2 separate regions of the Homo sapiens genome follow, and region 1 is linked to region 2. Evidence: promoter capture Hi-C in human tissues and cell types (Jung and others, 2019). All regions are on one chromosome and are shown on one strand. The core of a region is centred on a gene start or on the middle of the fragment in contact, and the rest is flanking DNA. Distances in the headings are between cores, read along the strand shown. Region 1 overlaps NUP160 (nucleoporin 160). Region 2 holds the start of RAPSN (receptor associated protein of the synapse).

The links. Contacts are between HindIII fragments. The study calls those that stand out against the background at their distance.
Region 1: a contact is called between a fragment that was not itself captured here and the fragment with the promoter of RAPSN in region 2, in 1 of the 25 tissues and cell types used here (small bowel).

Annotation. Positions count from the first base shown.
Region 1 is chr11:47,780,978-47,786,861 of GRCh38, reverse strand. It overlaps NUP160 (nucleoporin 160), which reads left to right. Exons shown (of 36, transcript NM_015231.3): 32 at 308-409; 33 at 1,799-1,940; 34 at 3,664-3,789. Among named protein-coding and RNA genes, the nearest start is that of FNBP4, 17 kb to the right of the region's middle. The HindIII fragment of the contact is 4,341 bases long and covers 433-4,773 here.
Region 2 is chr11:47,447,886-47,454,187 of GRCh38, reverse strand. It overlaps RAPSN (receptor associated protein of the synapse), which reads left to right and starts at 5,052. Exons shown (of 8, transcript NM_005055.5): 1 at 5,052-5,415; 2 at 6,038-6,302. The coding sequence starts at 5,224. The HindIII fragment of the contact is 7,804 bases long and covers 571-6,302 here.

The DNA.
Region 1 (5,884 bases), core at 1,354-3,853, 340 kb before region 2:
AGCTGAGATTGCACCACTGCACTGCAGCCTGGGTGACAGAGCAAGACTCCATCTCAAAAAAAAAGAAAAGAAAAAAGAATTTTTCATCATTAATTTTATCTTGGAAGTAAATTGTCTCTTAATGCTTACTCATGTTCTTGTAGGTATCCAGTTGTGTAACTTGAGGAAGAGATGAGCCAATATTCCAGTAGTGAATTCAGCAAAAGACTAGAGATGAAGTTGTCATCTATCTCTCTAGTTTTAGTATCAAATTAAAGTGGTACGTTTCAGCGTTCAGTTTTCAAGTGTGGAACCATTTTCATTCCAGATGCATCAAATTGCAATTTGGAGGAGAGGCAGCACAAGCAGAAGCCTGGGCCTGGCTAGCAGCCAATCAGCTCTCATCTGTCATCACTACTAAGGAGTCTAGGTACAACCCTGGTGTTCAACCCTGGGTAGTTTTGCCTTTCTAAAAGCTGTAACTGTCTTTCTCTGACTAAATTGTCCTACATAGATCATTTCACTTTTTTCTTTCTTTTTGGCTAAGTTTTTATAGGGGCTGGAAAGTTTATAATTAAGGTGACATCATGTCATTTATTGTCCAAACTAGGATGTCTTTGCCTATGAAATGTCTCCTTCTCCATATCCCCCTCCTCAAAGACTTACTGTTTCATATCAGGAAAGGGTACTCTTACAGGCAAAAATCTGTATTTACTTGTTTCGGAGTGTTATCCTCCTTTTTTCCCCCATTTCTTCCACTGAGCAGTCACTGCATGGTTTCATCACAGTGTCCTCTTATATCTTGTCTCCAGCTGCTGTTCAGCAGTCTGTCACCCATCAGCCCCCATCATCCACTATACCTTCTTCAGATCTCCTCTGGTTCGTATACTTCCCCAGTGCACCCACTTTGTGTCCACGTAAATATACTTCAGCTTCTTCAGAAACCTTCTCTAACATTCCTAACCCTCAGTAAACTTCCCTTTCTGAACTGCATTTGCACTTGGTATTATACAGCTTAGCACTTTAGAGTGATAGCACTTTAGAATTTGGAAGTTCTCTGACATTAGTTTTCAACCCCTAAATTAGCACATCAGAATAACTTATTAAAATACAGATTATGAGAAATCACCCTAGTCTTCTAAGTTAGAACTTCTGCATGATTCTAATGCTTGATCAGGTTTGAGAACCAGTGTTCTGAACCAGTTTCTTGTTTTAGAAATGCAGAAACAAAGGAGTTAAATGAATTATGCATTAATAGCCAAACAAATAACGTTCATTTACTAAATATGTTTGTTTACTAAATACTAAATACGTTAGTGGGAGAGGAATATACGAACCCAAGACATCTAGTTTCTAGTGCTATCCCCATAAGTCACATTAGCCCAAATAATATTTGTTCCCATTTAGCTATATTATTGATTCAGTTGTTAATTTCTAAAGTTTTCCTTGTAAGGCTGGGCATGGTGACTCCTGCCTGTAATCCCAACACTTAGGGAGGACAAGGTCAGAGGATCACTTTAGCTCTGGAGTTTAATACCAGCGTGGACAACATAGCAAGTCCTTGTCTCTACAAAACATAAACAAAATTAGCTGGGCATAGTGGTGCATGCCTGTATTCCCAGCTATTTAGGAAGCTGAAATGGGAGAATCTGGGGCTGAGGCTGCAGTGAGCTGAGATCACACCACTCCACTCTAGCCTGGGTGACAGAGCAAGACCCTGTCTGAAAAAAAAGTTTTCCTTGTAAATACATGCTTTGAATGGTACTCTAAATAGCTATTAAGAATCTGAAACTCATTAGTCATTTTTGTTTTTTTCAAGTGCTACAGATGAAGCATGGCGACTATTATCCACTTACCTGGAGAGGTACAAAGTCCAGAATAACTTGTATCACCACTGTGTAATCAACAAGCTCTTGTCTCATGGAGTGCCTCTGCCTAATTGGCTTATAAACAGTTACAAGGTAAACGGATTATAACTTGTACAGAGTAAGAACCCACTCTTTATCATTCTGGATAACTTCATGAGATGATTAAAAATATGGACTGATTGCAGTGGCTCATACCTGTCATGCCCGCACATTGGTAGGCCAACAGGGGAGGATGGCTTGAGCCCAGGAGTTTGAGACCAGCTTGGGCAACACAGGGAGACCCCATCTCTATTTAAATTTAAAAATATATAAAGAAAAAGAAAAAGATGGGGTGATAACTTATGGGAACATATTGACTTACGTACTTTGGGAAGCTTTTCATCATAGCTAAAACCATAAGAACAATTCAAATTCATTTCCACAGTACTACTGTGTATTTAGATTTGAAGTTTCATAGGTTAGTAATTAGGTTAATGACTCCTATTATATTCACTGAACAATGAGTTTATATTTAGAACAATGAGCATATGCATGACACAGGATTTACTCTTCATACCTCAAAAAAGTCACAGGAGTCGGTGGAGTACTTTTCAAATAATATAACACTATGGCTGGTCTGAGTGCCGTGTTGTTTACAACTAATTGAGCACAACCAGTTTCCGATTGGTTCCTTCTCCACTCCCACTGTTTCACCTATTAAAAATCAAAAACGGGTTCTTAGACTGTCTGCATCAGAATTATTCAGATGGCAGTCTTCTTCAAAATACAGATTCCTCATCCTAGACTTACAGAATCAGATTATCTCAGGCTAGGAGCCAGAAATCTACATTTTAAGAAGCTCCTAATTTGATTTTGATGCATGCTAAAGTTTGAGAACTTCTGCATCTGAACCACCGTTAGTAGGATAAGGAAAGAGAAAATCTAAAGCTTAAAATCAGGAAAGTTTTTTTTGGTTTTTTTTGTTTTGTTTTGTTTTGTTTTTTTTGTTTTTGTTTTTGTTTTTTTTTTAAGGTAGAAAGGAGGCCGGGCACGGTGACTCACGCCTGTAAACCCAGCGCTTTGGGAGGCCAAGGCAGGCAGATCACCTGAGGTCAGGAATTCGAGACCAGCCTGGCCAACATGGTGAAACCCCATCTCCACTAAAAATACAAAAATTATCTGGATGTGATGGTGCGTGCCTGTAATCTCAGCTACTCTGGAGGCAGAGGTTACAGTGATCTGAGGTTGCACCACTGCCCCCAAGCCTGGGCGACAGAGCAAGACTCTGTCTCAAAAAAAATAAATAAATAGGAAAGTAGGGAAGCCAGCTAAGATGGTAAAGGTAAGATTGTGATCAAATGGGAATATAGAAAGCATGCTTAATTAATAGAGCTCTTCCAAATAGAGACTTCAGATTTAAAGCTGGTGATTCTTTGAACTTCTTTTGCATTTGTCATTCATATATTTCTTATTATGTGAATATATTGTCACTTTAGTGTTCAGGAAAAGTTTGTTGACTTTACAACTGTGGAAACTGAAGTGGAGAGAAGTTAAAATATGTCTTAGGTCATAAAACAGGGGAAGAAGGCTATTTAACAGATAAGGGCCTCCCAAACTGCCTAGAGGTAACGGCTCTTAGGGATTTAACTTTTTTTTTTTCCTAACTCCCCAGATTTGTTATCAGCTCTTATCCTAAGATACAGATGAGTAAACCAAGCCACTGGTTTAATTATATTGAGAAATACAAATGTTAGGGAATCAGCCACTCAACATTCTTTGGTCAGTACTCAAGTAGGAGGGAAATAGGTACATATTCTTAATCACTGACTTTTCACAGAAGGTTGATGCTGCTGAATTGCTTCGTTTATACTTAAACTATGACCTTTTAGAAGAAGCTGTGGATTTGGTGTCAGAATATGTGGATGCTGTATTGGGAAAAGGACATCAATACTTCGGAATTGAGGTAGGCATATACAAATGGTCCCCAATTTACAATGGTTTGACTTACGATTTTTCAACTTTACAGTGGTTTGAAAGTGATGAACATTTATGAGAAACCATACTTTAAAATACTGATGGCCGGGCACAGTGACTCATGCCTATAATCCCAGCACTTTGGGAGGCCGAGGCAGACAGATCACCTGAGGTCAGGAGTTCGAAACCAGTTTGGCCAACATGGCAAAGCCCCGTCTCTACTAAAAATACAGAAATTAGCCAGATGCAGTGGCACGTACCTGTAATCCCAGCTACTCAGGAGGCTGAGGCAGGAGAATCGCTTGAACCTGGGAGGCAGAGGTTGCAGTGAGCCGAGATCATGCCACTGCACTCCAGCCTGGGCAACAGAGCGAGACTCCATCTCAAAAATAAATAAATAAATAAATAATAAATAAATAAAATACTCATACAACCGTTCAGTTTTTCAGTTGCAGTACAGTATTCAATAAATTACACAAGATATTCAACAGTGTATTATAAAGTAGGCTTTCTGTTAGATGATTTTGCCCAACTTTATAGGTTAACGTTAAGTGTCCTGAGCATGGTTAAGTAGGCTAGGCTAAGCCGTGATGTTCATTAGGTTAGATGTATTATATGTATTTTCAACCTATGATATTTTCAACTGATAGTGGGTTTATTGGAAAACAAACCCACCATAAGTTGAGGAACATCGGTATAGGCGCATATATATATATATATATATATATATATATATATATATATATATATATATATATTTTTTTTTTTTTTTAACTGAGTTTTGCTCTGTTGCCCAAGCTGGAGTGCAGTGATGCAGCCTCCACTTACTCCCTCACTGCAGCCTCCGCCTCCCGGGTTCAAGTGATTCTCCTGCCTCAGCCTCCTGAGTAGCTGGGATTACAGGCACCTGCCACCACATCCAGCTAATTTTTTAATATTTTTGGTAGAGATGGGGCTTCACCATGTTGGCCAGGCTGGTCTCGGAACTCCTAACCTCAAGTGATCCACCCACCTCGGCCTCCCAAAGTGCTGGGATTACCCATGTGAGCCACCATGCCCGGCCTAGGCATTTCTTTTTATTATCATGCTATGTAAGGTGAGAATCTGAGAGTAAATTGAACTATATGTTAGTGTATTTAACCTTTACTATCTGTAGTTATACAACTAAATATTGACACTCTAGGAATCTCTAGTCTCCTGTTTATAAAATAGGAATTTCATCTTTCTCTATCAAAATAATATGGCATTAGTTAGGATTCAGTGGAGAGAGATAAACAAAATGGTATTGTGTGTGTGCCGGGACTGTGTTAAGTCTCTACAAGCATTTTTTTATTTAATCCTTATAGCAGCCTTATGAAGGAATGTTTTAATTTTCTATTTTTTAACCCATGAGGGAACAGGCTCAGAGGTTATCACAGGCTCATACAGATGGCAAATATAATAGAAGAGCCAGGTCTAAATAGGTGTAGTTAACTACAGCTTCAACCCTCATGAAATCAGCCAGGTGCAATAGCTCACACCTGTAATCCTAGCACTTTCGGAGGTCAAGGTGTGAGGATCGTTTAAACCCAGAGGTTAAGACCAGCCTTGGCAACATAGTGAGAACCTTTATCTACAAAAAATAGAAAAAAATTAGCTGGTCATGGTGGTGCGTGCCTATAGTCCCAGCTATGTGGGAAGCTGAGGTGGGAGGATCACATGAGCCCTGGAGGTTGAGGGTACAGTGAGCTATGATCATGCCACTACACTCCAGCCTGAGTGACAGAGTGAGACCCTGTCTGAAAAAAAAAAGAAAGTTGACATGAAATTATTTTTTATTTTTATTTTTTTATTTTTTCCAAGACGGAGTCTCGCTCTGTCGCCCAGGCTTGAGTGCAGTGGCATGATCTCGGCTCACTGTAACCTCCGCCTCCCGGGTTCAAGCAATTCTTCAGCCTCAGCCTCCCGAGCAGCTGGGACTACATCTGTGCCACCACACCTGGCTAATTTTTGTATTTTTAGTAGAGACGGGGTTTCACCATATTGGCCAGGCTGGTCTCGAACTCCTGACCTTGTGATCCGCCCACCTCGGCCTCCCAAAACGT
Region 2 (6,302 bases), core at 3,803-6,302:
GCCCTTAACCTAACTACAGTCGCTGATTTCTGGAAAACGTGCTCAGAAATGAAATTTTTGAGGCCGGGCATGGTGGCTCACGGGAGGCTGAGGCGGGCAGATCACTTAAGGCCAAAAGTTCGAGACCAGCCTGGCCAACATGGTGGAACCCCGTCTCTACTAAAACTGCAAAACTTAGCCAGGTGTAGTGGTGCTCGCCTGTAATTCCAGCTTCTTGGGAGGCTGAGGCAGGAGAATTGCTTGAACCCAGGAGGCAGAGGTTGCAGTGAGCCGAGATCCCACTGTGTCCGCAGTTGGTTCCTTCTAGTGGGTTCGTGGTCCCGCTGACTTCAAGAATGAAGCCGTAAACCTCTGTGGTGAGTGTTACAGCTATTAAAGGTGGTGCAGACCCAAAGAGTGAGCAACAGCAAGATTTATTGTGGAGAGCAAAAGAACAAAGCTCCCACAGCGTGGAACGGAACCTAAGCGGGTTTCTGCTGCTGGCTTGTTGGGGTGGGGATGGGCTGGTCGGGGAGGCAGCTTTTATTCCTTTATTTGTCTCCACCCATGTCCTGCTGATTGGCCCATTTTACAGAGCACTGATTGGTCCATTTTACAGGGTGCTGATTGGTCCATTTTACAAATCTCCAGCTAGCTACGGAGCACCGATTGGTGTGTTTTTACAGAGCACTGATTGGTGCATTTTACAAACCTCTAGTTAGCTACAGAAAAGTTCTCCTAGTCACCACTCCACCCAGGAAGTCCAGCTGGCTTCACCTCTCACCACCACGGGCACTCCAGCCTGGGCGACAAGAGTGAAAAACTCCATCTCAAAAAAAAAAATAATAATAAAGAAGAAATGAAATGTTTCAAGGAAACATAAGGTACTCTGCTACCTAGAATAAGCGAGTATGGGCATATTCCCATCACTGAAGTCAGATGAGCAAAGACCTGTCTCAGGGAAAGGACAGCTTGATCCCATCAAGTTTTCAAGTTTTGAGGTCATTTGAGTTCCCCAGGAAAGAGGAAGGCTGTGGTCCCCAACTCTGTTGGGGTGTAGATGCAGGCCGCCCTTCCTCCATTCCTTCCTGCCAGAGACTCAATGTGAATAGTGTCTGGGCCTTGGAGTGGGGAGAATCTGCTGGCCCTTCACACCTTCGCTGTGGGCCCAGCTTCCCTCCCATCTGCAGCTCAGCATCAACCCAGGCCTCCCTGAGATGAGAGAAGACCCCAGCCAGCTCTCCCTCCCTTTCCCAGGCTTAGGAGCACTCCTTTGGGGAGTCCAGGTGGCCTTGCCCAGCCACCTGTCCCAGAGCCTGCTCCCACTCTGCCTCTGTTGAGCCTGGGGCATTTGCCTTCTGACCCCCAGAGCGTCCCCTCTGACCCGTTGGGCTCTCAGGAAGCAGGCCGTGTAGTTGCTCTGAATTTCCCGGTGAAGCCGTCTTTCCTCCGCTTCTTCCCCATTCACCGATATTTGACATTTATTGAGGGGCCACAGTGTGCCGGGCCTTGCTCTGGGAATACAGTCAGTAATGAAGGAGACAAAGTCCTGCCCTGGGTTAGGGCCCAGCCATATGACCTCATTTGAGTGAAGAATAAAGACATTCAGCAAACAACCTCACTAATATAAAATTATAGAGAGGCTGGGCGTGGTGGCTCACGCCTGTAATCCCAGCACTTTGGGATGCCCAGGCCAGCGGATCACTTGAGCACAGGAGTTCAAAACCAGCCTGGCCAACATGGTGAAACCCCGTCTCTACTAAAAATATAAAAATTAGCTGGGCATGGTGGCATTGCCTGTAATGCCAGCTACTTGCGAGGGTTGAGGTGGGAGGGTGGCTTGAGCCCAGGAGGTCGAGGCCTCAGTGAGCCTAGATTGTACCACTGCACTCCAGCCTGGGCGACAAAGTGAGACCCTGTCTCAAAATAAAATTATAGAGATAAGTCCTGTATCAGAATGCAGTGTAATTCAATGAGAGGATAATATGCTGATTCATCCTAATTATGACTTACGAGGCAGAGTGTGGGTGTGGTGAACAGAGAAGGAATTAGGAGGTGCAAAGGCCCTGGGGCAGACAGGTAGGCAGGTACCAGAATGTAACAGTTGCCATATTACTCACACTTCTGCTCCAAGCATATACCTAAGAGAAATGAAAACATGTCCCCATAAAACCTAGTACATGAATTTTTTATTTTTTTGAAACAGGGTCTCGCTCTGTCACCCAGGCTGGAGTGTAGTGACATGATTGCGGCTCACTGCAGTCCAAGCTTGTAGGCTCAAGCGATTCTCCTGCCTCAGCCTCGCGAGTAGCTGGGACCACAGCTGTGCACCACCACACCCAGCTAATTTTTTTTTTTTTTTGTATTTTTTGTAGATATGGGGTCTCGCTATGTTTCCCAAGCTGGTCTCCAACTCCTGGGCTCAAGTGATCTGCCTGCTTCAGCCTCCTAGTGTGCTGGGATTACAGGCGTGAGCCACCGTGCCCAGCCCAATTTGTACATGAATTTTTATAGCATCATTATTCATAGTAGCCAAAAATGAAACAACCCAAATGCCTATTAACTGCTGAATCAACAAAATGTATATCCAGACAATGAGTATTAACCAACCACAATAAGTAATGAAGTTCTGATACGGTTGAAAACATAGTTGAATCTTGAAAACATTATGCCAAGTTAAAGAAGCCAGTCACAGATGACCACATATTGTATGATTCCATTCCTGTGAAGGGTCCACAATAGACAGGTCCATAGACACCAGGTGGCTTAAATAACAGAAATTTATTTTCTCACAGTTCTGGACGCTAGAAGTCCAAGATCAAGGAATTGGCAGAGTTGGTTTCATTCTAAGGCCTTGCTCCTGGGCTTGTAGATAGCCATCTTCTCCCTGTGTCTTCACGTGCTCTTCTTCTGTGTGACTGTGTCCTTTTTAAACATTTATTGTGGGCCAGGTGCGGGGGCTCACGCCTGTAATCCCAACACTTTGGGAGGCAGAGGTGGGCAGATCATGAAGTCAGGAGTTCCAGACCAGCCTGACCAACATGGTGAAACCCCGTCTCTACTAAAAATACAAAAATTAGCCAGGTGTGGTGGTGCGCAGCTGTAATCCCAGCTACTCAGGAGGCTGAGGCAGGAGAATCACTTGAACCTGGGAGGTGAAGGTTGCAGTGAGCCAAGATGGCACCACCACACTCCAGCCTGGGTGACAGAGGGAAAGTGTCTCAAAAAAAAAAAAAAGTATTGTGGTCAGGCATGGTGGCTCACGCCTATAACCCCAATACTTCGGGAGGCTCTGAGGCAGGTGGATCAACTGAGGTCAGAAGTTCAAGACCAGCCTGACCAACATGGTGAAACCCCGTCTCTACTAAATACAAAAACTTAGCCAGGCGTGGTGGCATACACCTGTCATCCCAGCTACTTGGGAGGCTGAGGCAGGAGAATTGCTTGAACCCGGGAGGTAGAAGTCTCAGTGAGCTGAGATTGTGCCACTGCACTCCAGCCTATGCAACAAGAGCAAAACTCCGTCTCAAAAATAATTTTTAAAAATAAAAATTTATTGTTTATTTATTTTTTGAGACAAGGTCTTGCTCTGGTGCTCAGGCTGGAGTGCAGTGGCACAATCACGGCTCACTGAAACCTCCACCTCCAGGAGTTCAAGACCAGCCTGGGCAACATGGTGAAACCCATCTCTACAAAAACTAGACAGCTGTGGTCTCAGCTACCCAGGAGACTGAGGTGGGAGGGTCACTTGAGCCTAGGAGGTAGAGGTTGCAGTGAGCTGTGACTGCACCACTGCACTCCAGCCTAGGTGACAGAGTGAGACCCTGTCTCAAAAAAAAGGGGGGGGGGATACCAGTCTTAACTGGATGAGGTACAATGTGACTTCATTTTACCTTAATCACCCTTTAAAGACCCTGTCTCCAAAGACAGTCACCTTATGAGATACTGAGTGTTAGGACTTAAACATATGCGTTTGGTTGCGGGGGGACATGATTCAGTCATATCAAGGTGGGGAATGGAGTGGTGTAACTGCTGATGGGTGTGCGTCTCCTTTTTGGGGTGGTTAAAATGTTCTGGAATTAGTGGCAATTAATGTGCATCTCTGTGAATATACTAAAAACCACTGAATTGCCCAGCCAGAAAGGATAAACTTTTGCCCTGGGGCAGGAAGAAGGCTGGCATGCAGAGAGAGGAGAAAGGGGGGCTGGATGAGCTGGCCTGCTAGCGGGGGCCCCAATACTACATAAGACCTTGCCCTTCTCCACAGTATCTGGTGTTAAATCTCATTATGAGGACCCTTTCAGCCCGGGGTTGGGATTGGAAGTGAGACATTGAAACTTCAAGGGCTGGGTTCTGGCCCGGGTGGGGATTTGCCATGGAGCAAAATAGCCTCTTGCAGCACATGCGGGGTTTCCTGTGCCGGGCACTGTCCTAAGTCCTTCTCAACTCTTTCGTCATTGAGTTCTCATAGCAGTCCAGTGAGCCAGGTACCATTCCTCTCTTCAGTCCACGGTGCCAGGTCACTTGGCTAGGGTCCCACTGAGAGTTCGAAGGAAGCCAGGCTAGAGCTCAGGCCTCTCACCAGCTGGAGGTCTTTCCCAGACTCTCTAAGGTGAGAGTTGGTGAATGGTGTCAGCCTGGGCCTGGATGAGTGACCCACGGTGCTCAGTGAATTTCAGGAACAGAGCCAGGGGATGCTGCGGTCAGGGGTGTCTTGATGGGGAAGAAGCAGGGCTGGGCGCTCACCTGGCTTCCCCGGACCTGCAGGTCCAGCCTCGCTCTCCTTCCCCCGAGCACCTCTAGCCCAAGGCCTGCCCACTTGCTGGAGCTGGCCCCTTGGCAAGGCTGCTGGGAGGGCCCGTGCTGCCAGGGCGGTCAGGGTCAGTGTCAGAGGTGCCTAAGGGACGCCCAAGGGGGTGCCCAGGTGGCAAGGTGCCTGTATGCTCAGGGAAGCCACGTCCCAGCTCGCGGGTGGGTGCAGCAGAGGCCCACGTGACCTTGCTGCTGACATTCCTCAGAGGCCATGTGGCCCCAACTGGCAGCGACAGCTGCAGACGGGCTGAACCAGCTTTGTTCCCAGGGTGGCGCCTGCTCTCCATCCAGGCCCCATTCCGGCTCCCACCCGACGCTGCTTTTGTTCCCACGTTTCGGGGGGCAGCTGGCACTGTGATTCCTGCCCCATGAGTGCCTAGAGGCACGGAGCCACCAGGGATCACCCCACGTGGGACACAGGGCTTGGGGAGGATGGGGCAGGACCAGACCAAGCAGCAGATCGAGAAGGGGCTCCAGCTGTACCAGTCCAACCAGACAGAGAAGGCATTGCAGGTGTGGACAAAGGTGCTGGAGAAGAGCTCGGACCTCATGGGGCGCTTCCGCGTGCTGGGCTGCCTGGTCACAGCCCACTCGGAGATGGGCCGCTACAAGGAGATGCTGAAGGTGGGTGTACCCGGCCTGGGGGCGTTCGAGGGTCAGGCTGGGGCCGGATGTCTCCCAGGCTCCCCAGTCCCCTCTCGGCCTCCTCGGGCTCCCCTGTGTCCCACAGGCTGGCAGCCAGGGCCCGAGGCTCTGAATTTATATCTAAGGCCCTGGGTCTTAGATACTGAGTCTTGGCATCAGATTCAGGCCTGTGGCCTTGAACTGTGGTGCCCGAGTCTCTGAGACTGAGGTTCTCCAGCCTCAGGGTCGAGGGTTTGTGGGTCTCAAGCCCATTGTAGGTTTCAGCCTTCCTGTCTGGTGTTCTGTGTCTGAGCCTGGCGGGGTGTGGGCTCCAGGGTTGCGGCTGGGGGTGGGTGGGTGGTGGAGACTCCAGATCTGAGGCTTGGGATAGAAGGTGAAGGCTGCAAGCCTGAGCTTGGGAGGTGAGGCTGGGGTGTAGGGAAGGTAGCTGAGGCTGGCGGGTAGAAGCTCTGGGTCTGAAAAGAAGCTTTGGGATCTGCTGCTTTGGGTGTGAGGCTGGGGGGTGGGTGTGGGGCCTCCAGGTCTGAGCCTGCAGTGCAGGCTGGGGTCCAAGGCTCAGAGTCCAGGCTGAGCACCACCTGCCCACCGTCGCTGTGTGCAGTTCGCTGTGGTCCAGATCGACACGGCCCGGGAGCTGGAGGATGCCGACTTCCTCCTGGAGAGCTACCTGAACCTGGCACGCAGCAACGAGAAGCTGTGCGAGTTTCACAAGACCATCTCCTACTGCAAGACCTGCCTTGGGCTGCCTGGTACCAGGGCAGGTGCCCAGCTCGGAGGCCAGGTCAGCCTGAGCATGGGCAATGCCTTCCTGGGCCTCAGCGTCTTCCAGAAGGCCCTGGAGAGCTTCGAGAAGGCCCTGCGCTATG